2 separate regions of the Homo sapiens genome follow, and region 2 is linked to region 1. Evidence: promoter capture Hi-C in human tissues and cell types (Jung and others, 2019). All regions are on one chromosome and are shown on one strand. Each heading gives the region's core, a stretch centred on a gene start or on the middle of the fragment in contact. The rest is flanking DNA. Distances are from core to core; before and after follow the strand shown.

Region 1 (6,499 bases), core at 2,684-5,183:
ACCTTAATCACACCTGCAACGTCTCTTTTGTTATGTAATCACATATTCACAGGTTCCAAGGATTGGGGCAGGAACATCTTTGGGGACATGATTGTTCTGCCTGCCACATTCCTACTGGGAGGATAGAGACCTGAGTTTCAGACCCACCTCTCCTTTTTGGTGTGTGGACTCAGGATGGGGATTACTTCACCTGTCTAAGCCTTAGTTTCTACTTCTTTTTTTTTTTTTTTTTTTTTTTTGAGACAGCGTCTCACTCTGTCTCCCAAGTACAGTGGCACAATCATGGCTCACTGCAACCTCACCTCCCCGGCTCAAGCAATCCTCCCACCTCAGCCTCCCAAATAGCTGGGACCACAGCCACGCACCACCACACCCAGCTAATTTTTGTATTTTTTGTAGAGATGGGGTTTTGCCATGTTGCCCAGGCTGGTCTTCAACTGTTGGGCTCAAGTAATCTGCCGGCCTCGGCCTCCCCAGGTGCTGGGATTACAGGCGTAAGCCCCCGTACCCATCAGTTTCTTCTGAAGAAGGGGTTCACACTAGCACTTAGGTCCTAGGATCATGGTGAAGAGTGATTGCATTCATTCATGCTAAGAGCTTATCAGTTCCTGGTACACGGCATTGTTATCGTTGTGATGACAGGGGCAGGGCCCACACACCTGCACCCTCGAGGGGGACGGAGATGGGTCCCAAGGTCTGGGATCTGGTCTTCAATTTGGTAGGCCCAGAAATTGAATTTTCTGCTCACCCAGCTAGTCGGTGTTAGAGCCATGATTCAAACCCTGGCCTCACCAGTTCCAAAACCCCCTGTACACCAGGAGGTCCAGCTTCCATAGACTCTATCCCTGCTGCCTCTTTCAGTGGCAGTTGGGCTGAGGTCCCTCTGAGTCACAGCTGGCAGGAGGGAAACCCTTGGATTCACAGAGTGATATGCTTAGGGAATTACCCTCCTTTAAGCCTTGGGGAAGGAGAACTCCCCCAAGTGTATAAAGCGTGTGCACAGACCTTGTCACCTCTTCCCTTCACTGCAGCCCTATGAGGTACAAATGAATGATTCCTATTTCCAAATGTGGTTAATTGAGACCCAGAGAGGATGGGGGAGAAGACGCAAAATGGATTAAATACCTGCGATATTCTCTTTTGTTTGTCTGTTTGTTTGAGACAGTCTCACTGTGTCACCCAGGCTGGAGTGCAATGGCACAATCTTGGCTCACTCCAACCTCCACTTCCTGGGTTCAAGCAATTCTCGTGCCTCAGCCTCCCAAGTAGCTGGGATTACAGGCATGTGCCACCACGCCCAGCTAATTTTTGTATTTTTAGTAGAAACGGGGTTTCACCATGTTGTTCAGGCTGGTCTCGAACTCCTGACCTCAGGTGATCTGCTTGCCTTGGCCTCCCAAAGTGCTGGGATCACAGGCATGAGCCACCGCACCCGGCCAAATATCTGCAATGTTTTGAGCACCGTGCAGGGCGCTTTATGTACATCACCTTCACGAGACCCTCCTCCCCAAGTTACTTTCCTCATTTCCTAGAGGAGAAAACAGCTCAGAGAAGGAGAGAAATATGCTCAAAGCTCAACAGCTGGAAAAAGACAGGACCAGGAAACCCTTCCTTTTCCATCAGACGAGGTCCCCTCATGAGGAGAACGTGCAGTCCGTGACTGGGGAGCTCCTCAGGGTCAAGGATGCTCATCTCTGAATGCAACCCTTCCCCTGCAGACCTGGCAGGGTCTGCAAATAGTGACATTCTTTTTTTTTTTTTTTTTTTTTTTTTGAGACAGAGTCTCGCTCTGTCACCAGGCTGGAGTGCAATGGCATGATCTCAGCTCACTGCAACCTCTCTGTGCCTCCCAGGTTCAAGCGATTCTCCTGCCTCAGTCTCCCGAGTAGCTGGGATTACAGGCGCCCGCCACCATGCCCAGCTAATTTTTGTATTTTTAGTAGAGTCAAGGTTTCACCATGTTGGCCAGGATGGTCTCGATCTCTTGACTTCGTGATCCACCTGCCTCAGCCTCCCAAAGTGCTGGGATTACAGGAGTGAGCCACCAAGCCTGGCCAAATAGTGACATTCTAACCATTGCCTATGGAATAGGAGACATGCTTCTATTTGTTGAAATTGTCATCCCTCATGTAACCAGCCTGGGGAAGAACATTCAAGGGGGCATAACCCCCTCCATGGGCACAAACTGAGTCTTGGGCTCTGGTACAACCAGGGTTCTACTGAAAACTTATCATTTCCCATTAGTGTTACCATAGCAACACGAATGTCTTCATTCATTCCCCTAGTGTATGAACAGAGCTACACTCACCCCACCTGTTCTCCCAAGCCCCCTCAAAGTCCTTTCATCTCTGAGATTCTGTGATTCAATTAATTATCACCAATGCCTGCACTGCTTTTTGTCGTTTTCATTTATTCCATCTGCTGAGTCACCGTGTCCTGCTCTAGATGAGAGTGGTTATTCACAACGGTTATTCAGCCGTCAGTTGCCATGGACACCGCACAGCCTGCTTCCTTCATCACCCATTAATTCTCAGCAAGGCTGGCTGTAAGCATGGGTACCACTGCAGTTACCCAATACCCAAGGGGATCAAACTCTCCCAGAAAAGGTGGGGGCCCAATGACGCATGAACAGGAGCAAAATCTCTGCTCTCAACAGTGGAAAAGTAAAAAACAGCCTACGGCTCATTACATCTGGTCAAACCATGTGGAGGCAGCAGTTTATCAAATAAGTCAACAAGGTACCATTTTGTTTTCTGGTCCATCTTTGGCAAATGCTTTAGTCTGTTTGCTAACCATTTGAAGGTATATTTTGATACTGAAAAGTTGTTGGCTGGGCATGGTGGCTCACGTCTGTAATCCCAGAACTTTGGCAGACTAAGCTGGGCCGATCATGAGGTCAGGAGTTCGAGACCAGCCCGCCCAACACGATGAAACCCCATCTCTACTAAAAATACAAAAAATTAGCCAGGCGTGGGGGCGTGCGCCTGTAATCCCAGCTACTAGGGAGGTTGAGGCAGAAGAATCGCTTGAACCCAGGAGGCGGAGGTTCCAGTGAGCCGAGATCACACCACTGCACTCCTGCACTCCAGCCTGGTGACAGAACTAGACTTTGTCTCAAAAAAAAAAAAAAGTTGTTATGCAGATTACTAGCTCCCCTTGAAAGCAAAATGAAGGAGGCTTCAAAGGCAGGACCCTCCAGGAATTGGTTCTGCATAGGGGGTTTGCAAGTGGTGGTGCATGGGCAGCTGACCTAGAAGACACGGGGCAGCTACAAGCCAAACCCAGCCCAGCACAGAGGGCCTAAGGAGAAGAAGGCACCAAGGGTGTTCCATGGTAGGGGGAGGGTGAAAGGACTTCAGAGGTGACCAGGATGTGAGCCACTAGAAGGAGAGAACAGGGCCATCAGCCCACAACCCATTGCTCCTGGTAACACGTTATGTTTGCAGAGTCCAGTGGAGGGGACGGGGAATCAATACATCACCCCACATTCACACGCTTGCCAAACATCAGTGGATGGCGAAATCCACTTTCCCTGAATCTAAGCCCATCGGGTTCACTCCCTCACCTACCACCACCCACAAAGGTCCCTATGTAGTTCGAGAGATAAGTGCCAGGCCTCTGACCCCCAGGATATGGTGGGAAGCATTGCTCCTGACCCAGGGAGCTTGGTTCCTGCCCCTCAGGTACAGCTGGAGAGCTGCCGCCACCCCGCTCCAGCCCCTCACCATGAAGGTCAACTCCCCTATCCTTCCCCCACATCCTGGATGACTGACTGACACTAAATGAAAGGGCGGGGCAGGGTGATGGGCTGTACCTGTGCCCCACCCCATTCCTCTCGCCTGGACTCATATGGCAGGGTAGGGGCGGGGTGGGGGGACAGTTGGGAGGGACCTTGAGGGCTTTATAAGGCAGGCCTGGAGCATCAAGCAGAGCAGAGACCTGAGAGGCACCAGGCCCAGCCGTGGCACCACACACCTCCCAGCTCTGCAGGTGAGAAAACCCAGGAGGAGAGGGGAGAGGCTAGGAAGTGGGTTGACAGGTCCTCTCCCCCATCAAGGTACCAGGCCACTGGCCAGAGTCTGGGGCTCACCCCTTGGGGTCTCCAGAGCTGGGACCCTTTCTTTATCCCAGGATGGAACTAGGTCTTGGCTCCAGTACCTACCCTGGTATTCCCAACCTTGCCTTCCACCTGCCCTTCTGCCGCAGCCGGGGCCCTGCCCTTAGCCTATCCCTTCACACTCTTCCCAGCCCTGGGAGGTGAGGAGGACTGGGGTTCTTCTCCTTTCTCTCAGACAAGAAAACTGAGGCCCAGAGGCAAGATGTGACTTGCCCAAAGTCACAGGGATTATTAGGCAAGGCTGGGATAGGAATCCACAGCTCCTGGATCCCACTTCAAGCCCTTTCCTAGACCAGTGCCATCCAAAAGAACGTCCTATGATGCAGGAAATGGTCTTCATCTGCACTGTTCAATATGGTAGCCACTAGCCACGTGTGCGCTTGAAATGGGGTTAGTGTAAGGAAGTTTTTGTTGTTGTTGTTGTTTGTTTTTTTATATAGAGTCTCGCCGTGTCACCCAGGCTGGAGTGCAGTGACATGCAACCTCTGCCTCCCAGGTTCAAGCAATTCTCCTGACTCAGCCTCCCGAGTAGCCGGGATTACAGGCGCCTGCCACAACACCCAGCTAATTTTTCATATTTTTGGTAGAGACAGAGTTTCACCATGTTGGCCAGGCTGGTCACAAACTCCTGACCTCAAGTGATCCAACCCCCTCAGCCTCCCAAAGTGCTGGGATTACAGGCGTGAGCCACTGCACCTGACCATAATTTTTTAATTTAATTAATTTAAATGTAAAGAGCCACATGTGGCTGGTGGCTATAGCACTGAACAACACATGTGGTTAGCATCTGACAATACAGCTCCAGATCACTGATTTTTCAAACATTTCTTCAGCAGCAGAATTCTTTTCTTCCAAAGAAAACCTAACAGAAAACCTGATTATGAAAAACTTAATGGCCAGGCACCGTGGCTCATGCCTGTGATCACAACACTTTGGGAGGCTGAAGCAAGCAGATTGCTTGAGCTCAGGAGTTCCAGACCAGCCTGGGCAACATAGTGAGACCTCATCTCTACTAAAAATAAAAACAAAAAAATTAGCTGGGCATAGTAGTGCACACTTGTAGTCCCAACTACTCAGGAGGCTGAGGTGGGAGGATCTCTTGAGCCCAAGAGGTCGAGGCTGCAGCGAGTCAGGATCACGCCAGCCACTGCATTCCAGCCTGGGAGACAGAGCAAGATTCTGTCTCACAAAAAGAAAAGAAAAAAAGAAAAACTTAAAAGCAGTACAGTATTTTATTAATACAAATGTATTCTGACAAGAGAAAATTTTTATCATTTTCTTATGATAAAGCCAATCAGAATAGTGAGACCAAAAGCATACAAAAATAGTGAGTCCAGGGAATAGATGAGCATTTGAATTTTATGTTTGTTTGAGATTCCAGTTTAGTTCTGTATTATGTTTTCCCCAAACTTGATTCACCCTGATACATAATTGCTAATGGTGACAGCTTAATTTTTTCTTAACTGCTTCATTATAATCACAGGATATTCCTCAGTTAAGCAAAAATGACAGGAGAACCTTTCCTCTCAGGGCTGCACAAAAATCAGTGTGAGCTGGCCAAGCATTGAATGTGCTGCAGTCTCCAAAGTGATAACATGCGGTCTGTAACACAGCTGGATGTCCATGTTCCTTTGGTATTACTATTTAAAAGTTTCACTTTTTGTTTTTGTTTTTTTGAGACAGGGTCTCACTCTGTCGCCCAGGCTGGAGAGCAGTGGTGCAATCTCGGCTCACTGCAACCTCCACCTCCCCGGTTCAAGCGATCCTCCCACCTCGGCCTCCCAAGTAGCTGGGAATACAGGTGCATGCCACCATGCCTGGCTAATTTTTGTATTTTTTGTAGAGATGGGGTTTCAGTATGTTGCCCAGGCTGGTCTCAAACTTGTGGGCTCAAGGGATCCATCCTCCTCAGCCTCCCAAAGTGCTGGGATTACCATGCCTGGCCTAAAAAGTTCACTTTAAATAACAAGTCTTGGGCTGAGCACAGTGGCTCACATCTGTAATCGCAGCACTTTGGGAGGCTGAGGCGGGAGGATTGCTTGAGCCCAAGAGTTCAAGACTAGCTTGGGCAACATGGTGAAACCCTGTTTCTACAAAAAATACAAAAAAAATTAGCTGGACGTGGTGGTGCAAGCCTGTAGTCCCAGCTCTTCTGGAGGCTGAGGTGGGAGGATCACCTGAGCCCAGGAGGTAGAGGCTGCAGTGAGCAGTGATTGCACTACTGCACTGCAGCCTGGGCGACAGAGTGAGACCCTGTCTCAATAAATAAATAAATTACATTACTTAAACAGCTACAGAACCACTAACATGGCCTCAAATTCTGCAGAACAGAACCTAGGGAAACCATTGCCCTAGGATTTGACTTTCTCCAATAGAAGCAGT
Region 2 (6,499 bases), core at 1,619-4,118, 1.6 Mb before region 1:
TGGGAAATAAAAAGGACAACAGAGGGGAACTAATAGTGAAAGTGCTTTGAGGTCCTAAAGTAATGGGGAAGAGGTGAGGCAGGGGGTGGGGGCAGAGTGACACCCCTGCCCCTCGGTGCTGGAGGATAAAATATGAATTCCACAGAAGATTACTACTCAGAGGGGAACATGTAGATCATCTTAAGCCTCCCTCTTTTTACTAGTGGGGAACAGGAAGCTTAGGAGAAGTGACCGACCCAAGGTCAGACGTCCATTGCTAGTTTCATCTGCCCACCCCGAATGGGAAGGTGGGTAGATGTACAAGTGAAATACTGAACAGGGGTTAGAAACAGCCAGCATTGCCGGGTGCTTTGGCTCATGCCTGTAATCCCAGCACTTTGTGAGGCTGAGGTGGGTTGATCACCTGAGGTCAGGAGTTTGAGACCAGCCTGACCAACACGGTGAAACCACGTCTCTACTAAAAATACAAAAATTAGCCGGATGTGGTGGTGGGTGCCTGTAATCCCAGCTAGTCAGGAGGCTGAGGCAGGAGAATCGCTAGAACCCGGGAGGTGGAGGTTGCAGTGAGCCGAGATCGCCATTGCACTCCGGCCTGGGGGATAGAGTGAGACTCTGTCTCCAAAACAAACAAACAAAAAACAGCCAGTATTTCGCTTCAGAGCAGCAACTGTCCCATGAGTAATAACAGATCTCAAGTAGAGGAGATCTATCATGTTAGAGGGCTTGGGTCATGGAGGGGATGGAAGCTTCTTAGGCAGCGAAGGGAGAGGGAGCCTGAGCCACCTGCTGCTCCCGCTAATTCCTCCCCAGTCCCAGTGCTTCTAGAGAGGGTTTTCTTCACATAGGAAGCCCTTCTCCACAGGCAGCTCCTGGGATGGTATTGATGGATGCCTGGGAAACATGAAAGCCACCGAAAAGGTAGAGAAAAAGAATATGGGAGTCCGGGGGTGGTGGCTGACACCTGTAATCCCAGCATTTTGGGAGGCTGAAGTGGGCAGATCACCTGAGGTCAGGAGTTCGAGACCAGCCTGGCCAACATGGTGAAACCCCATCTCTACTAAAAATACAAAAATTAGCTGGGCGTGGTGGCGCACGCCTGTAGTCCCAGCCACTCGGGAGGCTGAGGCAGGAGAATTGCTTGAACCCAGGAGATGGAGATTGCAGTGAGCCGAGATCATGCCACTGCACAACAGCCTGGGCAACAGGGTGAGAGTCCATCTCAAAGAAAAAAAAAAAAGGCCAAGTGTGGTGGTGGCTCACACCTGTAATCCCAGCACTTGGGGAGGCCGAGGCAGGTGGATCACCCGAGGTCAGGAGTTTGAGACCAGCCTGGCCAACATGGAGAAACCTCGTCTCTACTAAAAATACAAAAATTAGCTGGGCGTGGTGGCGCACGCCTGTAGTCCCAGCTACTCTACTCGGGAGGCTGAGGCAGGAGAATTGCTTGAACCCGGGAGGCAGAGGTTGCAGTGACCTGAGATCGCGCCAGTGCACTCCAGCATGGGCAACAAGACCGAAACTCCATCTCAAAAAAAGAAAAAAAAAAAAAGAATAATAATATGAGCACAGGAGTAAACTGGGTAGTGAGGACAGTGAGGTTGACTGCAGGAGCTTGACCACTCACCCTCTGACTCCTTGTAGAAGATGAGCTTCCTGGAATGGGCTAGGCTTTAGCTTTGTTCTCCTGCTCCCAAGAAAAGTGGGAGAGAGAGGGCAGTGGGCTCTTCTCTGGCCCTTTGGCCCAGAGTTGGGAAGCTGCAGCAGAGTGTGGGAGCAACTGGGAGGGGCTAAAACAAACAAGGAAAGAGGCTTTTCAGGAAAACTTGGTTCTCAGCCTCCACCCCCTCTCCCTCCACCCTCTGGGCTCTGGAGGGAAAGCTAGGAGGTGAATTGCCCTGTCCTGCCCTTGCCTGCTCTCTGTGACCTTGACTCCAAGTCAGAGCCAGGGCCAGAGCCCAGGTGTCTGTCAGGGCTGGACTCAAAATCAGGACCCCTGGCGTGCATCTAGCTCCCCACAGCACAGCACCACCACTAGCACCCTCCCTTTACTTGGCCGGGGTCCTCCCCAAGGCCCACAGCTCTGTTTGCTGCTGTGGAGGTCCTACCCACCCCCTGTATACTTGCTGGATGTTTGTTCTTCTAGGAGTGGGAGCTGGGGTGGGTCAAGACTCCTCGCCTGCTGCAATCAGTGAGAAGGAGGAGGGAGCAGAGGTAGAGAGAGCTGAAATTCAGTCAGCCTGACTCTCCTCTTGGCAAAACCTGGGTGGTTCTGCAGTCTGTGTGTGGTGTGAAGGCAGAGGCTGGGAGGGAGGGGGCAAAGGAGAGGGGTTACCCCCTTGCTCCTTCCTTCCTTCCTTTCCATTTCTTATAGGGCCCTTCCTTTTCTCCCTCACAAGTAATTCGGGTGTCTTTCTTCTACAGCTGGTGAGAGGAGTACAGAATGAAAAGGCAGGGTTCTCTCTTGGCCCCAGAAGCTTCTAGTCAGTCTGTGTACCCTGCTCCTTTCTCTGTCAGCAGCTGCTGGGAGAAGGGCAGAAACTCTGAGACCCAAAGCCACCAAAGGGAGGGGGGAAAGGCTGGGTTGTCTGGCTCTGGGTGATTCGGAGTAGAATCTTGGTTTCTCTTTGACCTCAACCTTGGCTGTAAGACCTTAAGACAACAGGTGTATCTCAACACAACCTTCCTCACCTATCCCTCCAGCTGGACATTGCTGTTCACTTCTTTTTTTTTTTGAGACAGAGTCCCACTCTATCGCCCAGGCTGGAGTGCAGTGGCTCACTGCAACCTCCACCTTCCGGGTTTAAGCCATTCTCCTGTCTCAGCGTCCCAAGTTGCTGGGACTGCAGGAGCACGCCACAATGCCTGGCTAATTTTTTTTATATTTTTAGTAGAGATGGGGTTTCACCATATTAGTCAGGCTGGTCTTGAACTCCTGACCTAAGGTGATCCACCCACCTCAGCCTCCCAAAGTGCTGGGATAGCAGGCGTGAGCCACCATGCCCGGCCTGCTGTTCACTTCTACACACACACACACACACCCCATTTCTCCCATAGCCCAGTTCAACTCAAGAAAGCACTTAACTCTTCATAAATAGTACTCAGATTGGATCCAGGTAGAAAAGATGCATATTCACAACCTGGTACAGCAAGGCACTGCCCTGGTTCTGCATACACTTCCACTTGGATTCCCAAGTCTGGGATTCTGGGGACGAACCTTCCCATTAGGGGCAGTGTTGGATCCTGCCTGTGTGTTTCCAAATATGTCTTTAATTTTCCTTGATTTATTTGGACTGCAGAGGACAGCAGACACAGAGGAGAAGAAGGAAAGGTATTGAGAACACTAAGCTCTGGTCAGTTATGTATGTGTGCACGTGTGTGTGTGTGTGTGTGTGATTCTATGACTATGAGTGAGACTGCATGTTTGTGTGTGAGTGTGAATGCTGTGTGTGTGGGTGTGCATGTTTGATCTGAGATCTGTTCTCCCTGTCAGTAGGTTGTTCTGGGTAACAGGGCAACACCCTGTGCAAATTCTGGGTGGCCTAAATCTTGGGCCAACTGCTTGACTGACTGACTGACTGACTGACTGACTGACTGAGGGTGGGTCCTTGCTGGAAACAGGTCAGGCTTCTGTAGATGCCTTCCCATCCCCCTCCTTTCTCACCAAGAAACCATTGCCCAGAGTAGAAACCTGTCTGCCCAGGTGATGCAAACCTGGTATAGAAATGCTGGGGATGCCCCTGAATCAGGGAACCAGCCATGTGCCTGGGAGAGACTCACTCCCTGCCCTCCTAAATCCTTTTCTTTGTCTCTAAAAGGCCAGCTATCTTTCCCAACCCCACCCAAAGCCTGGATGTTTTGGGGAGAACTTTAAGAACATGCCACAGGAAGGACAGAGTCTGAGCTAACTTGTTTCTCAGTGTGGTGGGGGGAGGGGGATGGAGAAAGCAAGGGCGAGGCATGAGCCAGGGCTGGGTTCCATGGATGTGTTTTGCCTCAGATTCTATCTTTACCTCACTACTGCTTTTTCCAAGGAAAGGAAACCATAAATATGTATTAAGTACCAACCGTATGCCAGGCACTGTGCAAAGTGTTTTGTACACATTATCTCATTTAATATTCACAACAACCCTATGCTGTAGGTCTCATTCTTATTTTAGAGATGGGGAAACTGAGACTTAGAGAACTTTATTAACTTGCCCAGGGTGCCAGAGGGTCTAGGTGATTAGTCTTGAAGCTGTAATTTGCATAGCACTTAAGACTGAGAAGATGTCCATCAAAGAATGATAGCGCGGATGGAGATTATTGGAGGGGCTAAATCTCCCCTCTAGCTATCTCTTGAACTACCACTGTCAGCGTCACAATGAAAATGGCAATGCTGGGGATTCAACCCCAGGCGTGAAGATGAAACTCTTTCTGCTAGCAAGACTGCCCCTCCTAGAGAGATTACTGCCACCCTAGGGGAACGTCTGAGCAGCAAACTCATCCTGGTGTTTCCCAAGCAATGGTGATGCTTGGAAGTGGGATATATCACCAAGAACAGAAGCCTGAAGCACCCCTTGTCCCTGTCCCAGGGAGTACCTCAGCTTTCCAAAATCTCTCTTTTAACCCCAGGCACATTTCCTCTTCCCCTAAACTCTTCCCACTCCCCGTCCTACATTTCCCTCATCTGGTTCTAAAAGTAGAAGGGGCAGGAACAGGGTGCACAAACCACAGACTGCTATAGAGGTGACTAACAGAAACAGGCGTCTGAACTCTCTTCTCTACCCAAACCCTCTGAATTTGGGGTCTGCTGCTGGTGGTGAGGAGAGTGGGGCAAGTAGGTCAGGGCCCTCTGAAGTCCCATGGTGCTTCATTCCAGGAGCTGTATTAAGAAGATTGGTTGAGGGAGCGTGTGGAAGGCCACCAAGGACCAACAAAAGTTGTGTCCAAAGCCTTAAGGAAACAGCATCCCACTTCCCCATTTACCTGCTTGAGCAACGTGCACCTCTAAAACCAGCCCTTCCGAAAGCCACTGTCCTGGGCCAATGCTTCTTCAGCAGATGCTTTGAAGAACCTGAAGAAGGGTCCCCTCTCTCAGAACCTAGGATCTCACCCACATCACAGGATCCTGGAGGAGGCATGGATTGTCCTTGGCAGTGGAGACTAAGCCCCAGATGACCCTTTTTCTGGCATCCAGTACATGCTCTGCTAAGGCCTCCTGTCCAATCTTTGCCATGCTGCTGGAGCCACAGTGGTATCATCTTCCAGGCCCCTGCACCTGCCCATTGGCTGCCCTTGAGCCTCTGTAGAACTCAGATGCAGGGAGAATGTGGGGGAGGTGGAGGAAAGGGAGAGGGGGTGCTCTGCATCTGCTTCCATCTCTACCCTTTATCCCAAGCTCCATCTCAAACCCTCTCCTTATCCAGTGTCTCTCCATCCTTTGGGCCTCTGCAGATCACCATTAGCTGCCTGGGGAGGCCAGAGGCTCATGACAGTCCTCGTGAGCAGAATGGACCTCGGAGGAGCGGTGGCCTGGGCAGGCATTAGGGGCCTTGTGTAGCTTCTGGGAGGCTTACATAAACACTGGCTGGGATGGGGAGGAAAGGGGGGTTGCAATGGCTGCCCAGGGAAAAAAGCAACCCCCGCCCGGCCGGCTCAGCCTGAGTGGAAAGAAGGAACAAGGCTTACTTTCCCTCCTCTCACTCCTCTCCCCTGGTCTGCAGCTGTTAGTCGGGCTGGAAAGACTGCGGTATCTTGGGGGAGGGGGGGCAGGAGAAGGAGAGAGAGAGGATGCGACTTCACAAATTTGGGATCCCTCCTCCTCTTCTAAATTGGGGGGAGGGCGAGTGGGGAAGAAGCAGTTTGCCAAAGAGATTTTCAATGCCGCAGGAAGGAGCTTTGGCTCATTAGAATGCGCAGTTTGCACCCTGGAAAAAAAAAATCTGTGCTGGTTGCAAAAATGCAGACGTGTGTAGGGGCCCAGCGGAGATTAAAAAAAAAAAAAAAAAGCGCTAGCTCTGCAATGCAGGATCTGCGAAGTTTTGGTGCGATGAGGAAATGTGGGTCGTGCTCATTTCATTTGCTTGTTCCTGCTAACCTACTGTCCCCCTGACTCTAGCATAGTCTCATAGCCCAGCAAGAGGCACCGCAGCTTAGAAATGGGGTCACGAGTAGGGGGCAGAAGCAGAGAGCCAGAAGTGGGGGTCTGTGGTTAGAGTGCCCAGAGAAGGACCAATGGAGGTTAGAGGGCCAGGCAGATGGAAGGGGGCACTTCAATGAGGGATGGAGGCTGAATTTGCCTTTTGCACACGCATTTGTTCTGCAGCTACACAGGGGTTATTGGGAAAGCCCTTCTAGGTTTCCTCCAGCCCTCGGCTCTTCCCCATCTCCAAGTAGCAGAGGGACTTTCCCCTTCCGGTCCACTAACCTCACAGACCACTGTTGCAGAACCTTTGCTTCATGTCCCCAAACACACAAATCCCTGAACTGTCCTTGTTCTAACCCTGGAGGGGGCACTTGC

Evidence for each region. Contacts are between HindIII fragments. The study calls those that stand out against the background at their distance.
Region 2: a fragment that was not itself captured here is called in contact with the fragment with the promoter of GAST in region 1 in 1 of the 25 tissues and cell types used here (dorsolateral prefrontal cortex).

What each region holds. Positions count from the first base shown.
Region 1 is chr17:41,708,398-41,714,896 of GRCh38, forward strand. GAST (gastrin) reads left to right here and starts at 3,934. Exons shown (of 3, transcript NM_000805.5): 1 at 3,934-3,990. RefSeq lists an enhancer at 1-299. The HindIII fragment of the contact is 8,154 bases long and covers 1-6,499 here.
Region 2 is chr17:40,101,341-40,107,839 of GRCh38, forward strand. No RefSeq gene overlaps it. Among named protein-coding and RNA genes, the nearest start is that of NR1D1, 4.0 kb to the left of the region's middle. RefSeq lists enhancers at 1,622-2,501, 5,406-6,035, 6,472-6,499. The HindIII fragment of the contact is 5,880 bases long and covers 1-5,808 here.